3 separate regions of the Homo sapiens genome follow, and all the other regions are linked to region 3. Evidence: promoter capture Hi-C in human tissues and cell types (Jung and others, 2019). All regions are on one chromosome and are shown on one strand. The core of a region is centred on a gene start or on the middle of the fragment in contact, and the rest is flanking DNA. Distances in the headings are between cores, read along the strand shown.

What was found. Contacts are between HindIII fragments. The study calls those that stand out against the background at their distance.
Region 1: a contact is called between a fragment that was not itself captured here and the fragment with the promoter of DEPDC1 in region 3, in 2 of the 25 tissues and cell types used here (dorsolateral prefrontal cortex and spleen).
Region 2: a contact is called between a fragment that was not itself captured here and the fragment with the promoter of DEPDC1 in region 3, in 1 of the 25 tissues and cell types used here (dorsolateral prefrontal cortex).

What each region holds. Positions count from the first base shown.
Region 1 is chr1:70,139,402-70,142,227 of GRCh38, reverse strand. It overlaps LRRC7 (leucine rich repeat containing 7), which reads right to left. Exons shown (of 27, transcript NM_001370785.2): 27 at 1-2,826. Among named protein-coding and RNA genes, the nearest start is that of LRRC40, 65 kb to the left of the region's middle. RefSeq lists an enhancer at 963-1,464. The HindIII fragment of the contact is 4,443 bases long and covers 1-2,826 here.
Region 2 is chr1:70,106,373-70,109,233 of GRCh38, reverse strand. It overlaps LRRC7 (leucine rich repeat containing 7), which reads right to left. Exons shown (of 27, transcript NM_001370785.2): 26 at 1,408-1,482. Among named protein-coding and RNA genes, the nearest start is that of LRRC7-AS1, 66 kb to the right of the region's middle. The HindIII fragment of the contact is 3,848 bases long and covers 1-2,861 here.
Region 3 is chr1:68,495,771-68,498,470 of GRCh38, reverse strand. DEPDC1 (DEP domain containing 1) reads left to right here and starts at 1,389. Exons shown (of 12, transcript NM_001114120.3): 1 at 1,389-1,519. The coding sequence starts at 1,472. DEPDC1-AS1 (DEPDC1 antisense RNA 1) reads right to left here and starts at 1,795. Exons shown (of 3, transcript NR_110671.1): 1 at 1,700-1,795. RefSeq lists enhancers at 1,489-1,548, 1,659-1,708. The HindIII fragment of the contact is 14,129 bases long and covers 1-2,700 here.

The DNA of each region.
Region 1 (2,826 bases), core at 175-2,674, 1.6 Mb before region 3:
AAGCCAAATAAGAGTCCTCTGAGTGGAAAGACTACAAGTATTGAAAATAAAAATTATTTCAACAATATATTCTGAAAATTAATGACCTTTCTAGCAGATATGGGAGCTGCTTTATGTTGTCTGCCTGAGAGTTTCATCTTGCTTTTCCTATGGACCGTCCAAAAATATTACATAAGATTTCCTGACTAAATAAGAAATATTCTTTAGTAGAGGGTTGGGGAAGGGTAAGAGGAATGGAGAGATACAAAGAAATACAATGTGATTTCTTTTGTCCATTTGTCAAATGCTTTCGTTAAGCTATTAAAAAGGTCAATTGACCTGCATACCTGGGCATTATTTAACCTCATTATTTTAGCTGTGCAAAACAAATGTGCAAAGAAAAACACCTCCTATTTATGTGTGCCTATACATAGACACAAAACCTGAGTCACCATAAAAGTTTTCAATATAAGAAACCTTTTCTTAATATAGGAAAATAACCTTTAAAGAGCCAAAAATATCTTTGTACAATATAAGCAGCTAACTTTAAAACTTCAGTGTACTTAAGTATCACATATTTTATAAGATCCAGCAAAAAAGGGATCATTTACATTTGATAATTTTCTTAACTATAGCTGAGATAACCACATTTTAATTTCTAACATGTATTTTCATTCCCCTGAATTCATTGATTTTTTTTTTAAAGCACATTCAAATAAGTCCTGTTTAATTTCTGACAAACAGTTCCTGCTTGTTTCTAGATATTGAGGACATAGGAGATTTAGGATTGCTAGGCCTATAATTTAGTGCCAAGCCACAATGGAATTCCAAAGTTCAAAACAAAATATATCATTTTATTAAGAGAAACATTATTTGCAAAAGTATTTGTAGACAGAGTTGGGCCAAAGTCTGCATGAAGCTATTGTCTCATTTGCAGGCTCCCTTTCTACTGACTTAACTCTTAAAAACCCTTTCTTTCTCCATGCTCCATTTCCTTATTTTTCAGTAGGCTTCATACCCTTTTCGTACCTGAACCCTGAATTGTCCCAACTGAATGAAGCTCCCTTGCTCATTTGCAGCCACCAGTTAACAATGTCCTCTTATCTACATCTTTTGTTATCTCTTCCTCTTTATGAGCTTAGAACTCTGGGATGACTCCTTGGCCTCTCCTCCTGTGCCACTTAACTACTCATTAGAGGAAAATCTGCTTGAGTGTTCCATTGCCTTATTAGTCACTGATTTAAGGCTCAATTCAGGACATACTTATTCCCTGGGCTACACCTCAGTTGCGAACTGAGGAAAGTTGTTTATAGAAAAATGACTGAAAGTTGCTTCTCGATGCTGCTCCCAGTGGTCCTTGTCATTAATTATGCATTTATGTCAGTTAAGTCACTGACACTTAGGGAGAAGGGAAAGCCATCTGAACCAAAATATTCAGTCTTTGTGGCTGTGATTGGATAGGAGGGCCTTTGAATACTTGTATCAGTAAAGAGATACTGGGCAGGGCCCTTGAATGCTTTTTTTCTCAAGCCTGGTTTGGGAATAAGGTGGAAAATGCATGCAAGAGAGTAAAGGATTAGAGGCATTAGCCAAGGGAACTGTAGTCAATTCCTGACTTTTTATATTATACTTGCCTGAGGATCACCAGAAGGATTTTGTCTTGTGCAGAAGGCTAAAAGCAGAGTCATACTTTCTCTGCCAACAGACTTGTTGCCATGGGAACCAGTGCAGAAAAATGAAAATATGACAAGAAGCCAAGGATTAAATGTAGAAAATTGATAGGGAGTTGATTTCTACATGGCAATTTAAGCATTGAGGATTTAAAGAAACAGGATGTTCCTTATGTGGCCAGATCAATGAAAATGGACAAAATGACTTACCAGTAGCTGGTCCTAGGGGGCTGAGGTGTGGAAAATGGAAGGAGAAAGTAGTAAGCGTGCTGTAGTTTGGATAAGGGGAACTTTGTAAAATCTAATTCCACTCCTGATGAGGTTAAGCTTGCAGCCCAATGTTAAAATTAACTGTAGGATCAAATATACCCTTTGGAAAGGCATGCCCATGCTTAGCTTGATAAAAGCAGCCTGATGTAACAATTTTCTTTTCACCTTTCCAAAACCAGCACATACTACTCGACAAGATTATTGCACATCTAGTTTATTATTGCTTGATGTATCTTTTCAATTACTCCAACACACAAAAAAACGAAAAAACCCACCATTTGCAAATCTATGCCTCCCTTCCCCCAATAAGGCAGCTATTGTAAGTACCCTAGAATTAAGTTTCTCATTAAGGAAATAATTATTTTACTTCATGTGATACAAGTCCTCCCTGTGTACCCTTCTCTGTCATTCAGTACTTAATAATAAACTGATCAAACCAGACTGTAGGAGTCCAGGAAAACCTTTAACAAGGATTTGGAGTTTCAGCATAATCTGAGAAGGACCTACATGTTGTATTTTCAAAGGCTCTAAGGAGACTGTACCTGCCGTGTCTCCGAAGCTTTCCTGAAAACCTACAATTAATGTCTCATTCCTATGACTTCAGCTTTGGCCTATTTTGAAATGCAGTTGCTCTAAGGAGATGTAGGAAGGTCACCCTGTAAAGGATTTGATTTAACCCTTCCTGCAGAGCTAGTTTTCAAATAGTAATGGCACACTTCACCTGATGTCCTCTTCTTCCCTCACCCACAAAGGAAAAACTAAAAACATAACGTCCACCTGGGCAATGGGTAGGGCTAGAGGCCAGGAAGTAGGAGACAAGCCATTATAGCATAGTTGTCTTTAGGGTACATCTGAATCCAAATGGTCTGAATAAAATATGCTCTTTGTGCAGTGTTACGTACACTGG
Region 2 (2,861 bases), core at 105-2,604, 1.6 Mb before region 3:
CCTGACCAGCATGGAGAAACCCTGTCTCTACTAAAAATACAAAAATTAGCTGAGTGTGGTGGCGCATTCCTGTAATCCCAGCTACTTGGGAGGCTGAGGCAGGAGAATTGCTTGAACCCGGGAGGTGGAGGTTGTGGTGAGCCGAGATCGTGCCATTGCACTCCAGCCTGGGCAATAAGAGTGAAAGGCTGTCTCAAAACAAAAACAAAAACAAAAACAAAACAACAACAACAACAGAACAAAACACCACCACCAAACAACAACAACAAAAAAACCAAAAAACATTTCTGAGAATGAAATGTTAAAGCAATCTTAGGATTTCTACTTTTCTAGGACTTTCTGAGAGAACGCAGTACATTGGAGATAGAAGATCTCCTTGGAGCTGACTTGAGGGGATCCTTGCATTTTTAAACTGTGTTTGTATAGTTGATCTAAGGTTCCTTTTTCACATGTCAACTGTGTTTGTATAGCTGATCTAAGGTTCTTTTCACATGTCTTGTCTTCTCAGTGAATCTAAATGTTCAGTATATTATGTTGAGCCATTTCATAACTGTTGCAGATGGTCAAATATCAGCAGTATCAAGTAGTTCCACCTATTTATATAACGGGAAATTTCTGGGGTTCTAAGTCAAAATACTGAAGCTTAAATACATCGATAATGCTTAAGAGCTTTTCCTTGGAATGTAGAAAATGATTATGCACCTCTTATATAGGAAGTGAATTAATGAGCTTCAAATCACTGATAAGAAACAAAGCAAAAAATTAAAGACAGTGAATTCAGAGAGAAGGACAAAAAAAGTCAAATAAATGAGTTTATGTAAAGTATTTGCTTAATTGTTTATTGGGGTGAACCTTTTCTGATATGCAGAGCTTTAAGTTAGTGAAAGTCATCTTCCATCACACAATGCATTTTTAAAAGTCACCTTATATAGAGCTAAACTTTTGTTTATCTAAGCAGGGGGAGTAGAATGATGTATTATATATTTCATAGCATTCAAACAGTAATAAGCCTGTGGTTGAGAAATTAAATATGGACCAGTTCCTTCTCCCTCATGAAAGTCACACACATACTGTGTTTGGGAACTTACTCTTACTTGATAACTATGCATAGATTAATATATATATATAATATATATATTTCTTATATTATCAAGTAATTCCATTCAATTCAACAAAAATATGCAAAACATCTGTCATGTGCCAAGTACTGTGTAAGGTGCTAGGGATATAAGATTTGTCAGACTGAATTGTTTTTGACTTGACTTTCAGCCCCAAAATAATAAAGGCAAATAAGCAATGTGAGAAGGACTTATTTTCAATCATTTAATTCAAATCATTTAACTTGGTAACATGGTTACATATTTGTCTCAGTATGGCATTTGCATGCATTTCTTTTATCTGTCTTACCTGAAGGATCTTATCACCAGGCTGCAGTAGGTTTGATGCTGGCCCATCAGGCTGAACCCTAGTAACAAAGATACCCTATAAGTCAGAAGTAACAGAGGTTAGGATTCTATTACCAAGAACCAGGCCTACTTAAACAAATCTTCATTCACATAGAAAACAGTGAAAACAGATCCAGAAACAGTTTATGCATGTAGGCTTCAAAGAATATTATAGTATTTTAAGCAAGGCAGCACTCTCCAAGTCAAGTTTAAGAGAAGCAACATTTTTGCTTGCAAAAAGAAGCTTATCTTGTTTTGAAAGTGCAATTATGATTTATAAATTGATCTCATGGCATATTCTTAATGATTTTTTCCTTAAATCATTTGAAATGTGATGCTGAATCATTTTTTGTATAAATTCTGAATTTGTCTTCAGTTATTCTACTTAACTATGTCTCCATTAAAGGCAGTTGAAGGTATTTGAAAAAGTATCTCTATTTGATAGGTTATAAGTTCATTGTATACTTTAAAAGCTTTACTAGAATTATATATACGACTGGTTTATTTTAATGCATATTGTTTCATATGTTACTGAGAATTTTAATATAAAATGTATATGAACAAATTAAACATAAGCAAACTGGAACATGCATTTTAAATAAAGTTTATGACTATGTGGTTATAAAATCCCTAAATTGATTAATGCAGTTTATAAGAAAGTCAAATTAATTTCATTGACCATGTATAGAAAGAAAACATATATTGAATGTCTATCACATGCTAGGCCTGGATGGCTCATGATATAGAGATAGACAGAATATAGTTTCTGACTTTAATGAGCTCACAATCTAGTGGAGGAGAAGTCAAGAAAACCAATAATTATAAACATTGTGACAAGTGTTATGATAGAGGTATAACAGATTGTAAAAATATGTTGCACCCAGCTTATATTTGTGTGTTAGGTTCTTCCAAGAGGAGAAGATACCTGATAGCTGAATAACAAAGAACACACAAAAGTCATCCACACAGGTAAGGGGAAGAAGGAAATTGCAGAGAGAGGGGACAGCACATAAGTGAGTGTGCCTGTTATATCTGGGAAATTTCAAGTGGTTCTGCTATGGCTGGAGTGCTGATGGAAGGGTGGTAGTGGATGGGATTGGGAGCGCAGCAGAGGATCAGGCCAAAAAGTAGGTTAGGGCAAGATTAAGATGGCCTTTCATAAACCTTCTTACTAATTTCAGGTGCTACTGAAAGATTTTAAACATGATTGTGATAAGATTTTAATTGACATTCCAAGAATAAACTGATGAATGGATAAACAAAATGTGGTATATATCTATATAATGAAATATTATTTGGCAATAGAATGGAATAAAGTATGGAAACATGCTACAACATAGAAGAAAACGTTATGAAAACACTATGCCCAGTGAAAGAAACAAGTCACAAAAGGCCAAATATTATACAATTCCATTT
Region 3 (2,700 bases), core at 140-2,639:
CCACAGCCACAGTGGATTATTAAGGTACTATTAAGCTGTGGCTACCTATATCAAAGGCTGTATGTGAGATGATTTTCAACTTGGGGAGCTGGGCAAAAATAAATTTTGGCTTCCACAGTCTCATCTCCATTTCCTTCTGAAAGGAAAAAGAAAAGAAAAACGAAAATCCTGGGACAATGTATCATAAAGCCAGGTAAGAAACAGTTAACATTATTTTGTAACATCAATCATTTTACTTTTCCTTAACATAAGTGGAAAATTGAGTAGATTGTTCCTGTTTACCAAGTATGTTTTTGAAAATTCCTACCCACTGGTCCTGGTAGAAAATAGATGTGCTTCTGCCCAAATTAAGGAAAACTCCACAGACCTACACTACCACTCCCTGAACATTTTTCTTTATCTCTTCTTTTTACTGCATCCTATCCTCTTAAACTGCTATTTAATTTCCAAGTGAATTCTTCCACAGCTTCAAATCACTCAAGCAATCTCCCACTTTACTAAGGGATTCTTAGCATCAGATAGTTTCAGACTGGTGACAGGGTATTTATTAAAAGCATGAAGTCTGTGCTTTGCCAAGGAGACCTAAGACTGAGTAAGTCTCTTCAACTCTCGGAATGTAGTTTTTGTCATTTGAAAATTGACTTCTGTTGAAGATTTATTTTCTAAGATCCTAGTGAAATTTTAAGTGTATAATCACGATCCAAACATAACCAACATTCTTATACAGTGGTAGAGTTTAAGGGAAGCAATTTGACAAGTTGTACACAACCTTTCCCAAGCCCCACATTGTATGTACTTAAGAAAGACTACCTATAATCCATTTTATTACCCAACTGGGGGGTTCTGAATGATCCATTTTACTGCACAATTAGGGGGTTCTGAACCTAGATTTTAGCACTTCAGAGAATCATGGCACCTGCTGAGAGAGAGGATAGGCAGCAGAGAGAGAAACTGCGACACATATCCATCAGGTTGCTTTGCCTTCTAAGCTAACTGCTGAAGATCCTGTAGGGCCAGGCAGAAAAACCGTATTTTCTTGTCTTTTCAAATTTCAAATTCCCTTAAACCAAAGGCTGGACTCCAAATAATTTCGTTTGGAACTAAAGAGCTCATCCCCTCTGAGCACGAAAACAGGACTCTGTGACTCCGCCTCGCCGTAGACCGCAGGAGGGAGAAACAGCGCCAGGGAAACCCGAGCCTGTCCCATCGAGGCGGTCCCAGGCCAGCCCAGCCCACCCCAGCCCGCGCCAGCTACTGGAGCCCCAGGACGCAGCCGAGCGGCCCTCGCCGACTCCTTCCCGAGCCTGGCTGTGGCGTCACGTGACCCGCGGCGCGGCCAATCCGCGCAGCCCTCTATGCTATTCAAATCGGCGGCGGGGCCAACGGTTGTGCCGAGACTCGCCACTGCCGCGGCCGCTGGGCCTGAGTGTCGCCTTCGCCGCCATGGACGCCACCGGGCGCTGACAGACCTATGGAGAGTCAGGGTGTGCCTCCCGGGCCTTATCGGGCCACCAAGCTGGTAAGACAGCTCGGATAGACGGGACCGGTCAGCGGGCTGACGGCAGTCACCACTGTTCGCAGTTTTACCTCGACCGTTCGCAGTTTTACCTCGGTCGGAGGGATGAGTCCCAGGATCCCTAGGTTCAGTGAAAAGGCTGGCGAGGAGAAGTAGCGGGTATGCAACCCTTGCCAGACTCACCGCTCCCTCTATTTTGAGGGTCTGGGCCTCAGGTCCGAAAGGAAGCGCCGCGCGTAGGCCGCACCAGACTCGCTATGAGGAGCGACTCCTGTGCCTGGTGTGGCCGGCGTCCCGTGGGGGCGTCTTAGAATATTCCGATTTGGCCGCTCACCTCGCCTGATTTTCTACCCGCCTCAGAATTAGGGAACAATTGGGAATGAGGTCCAAAGCTTTGTAGGGTTAGGTGGGGGGCAAGCCCGAATGTGGCAATTTTGTTTATTGAACCCATAGAATTTAACGCAGGATGTATCGGCCGAATAGCACTAGGATAACAGCTGCCTGTTTCAAAACGGTATTTCTGAGTACCCATCAGTAACCACTGCTGGTGGTCCCTGAATTGCACGTACAGCACTCCTAACGCGTTTTGTGCAGTTGGGTCTTCGGTTCTATAGGATACTGTGGTGCTGGTTATGTGACGTTAGGTGAGTCCCCTACCTTCTGTGAGCCTGTTTCCACATTGGTAAAGGTTACTAATACATGCTTGCCTTAAGGGGTTTCCCAGGAGGATGCTGTTTTTTAAAGTGTGTTGTGATCTGCAGAATAACAAGCATTTTCCTCTTAGGAATGCCCTTCAGACGAGCATGTATTATTAGCCCTACTTTATCAGGTGCACACTGAGGCTCACAGACGTTAAATGCCCTCTAGAGTCACATCAACAGCAAGTGGCAGAGCTAGAATTCAGATCTTCCTGGTATGGCGATCTTACATGGATTCTGCTACTTAGTAAGTTATTGGCTATATTTACCAATATGAAGGATAGAATTTAGGACAGGAAGGAACCTCAATCAGTAGTCCTGCCACATTATTTAAAACCCATTAGATGAAAGTAGTATAAGCACGCTGAAAAAGAAAACATGCACTGAATGCTTACTAGTACTTCACATATATTACATCATTTTATCATTCCAATAAGCCCATTCGTTAGGTCCTTTTGTCCCTGTTTTGTGGTTAAGGAGATTGAG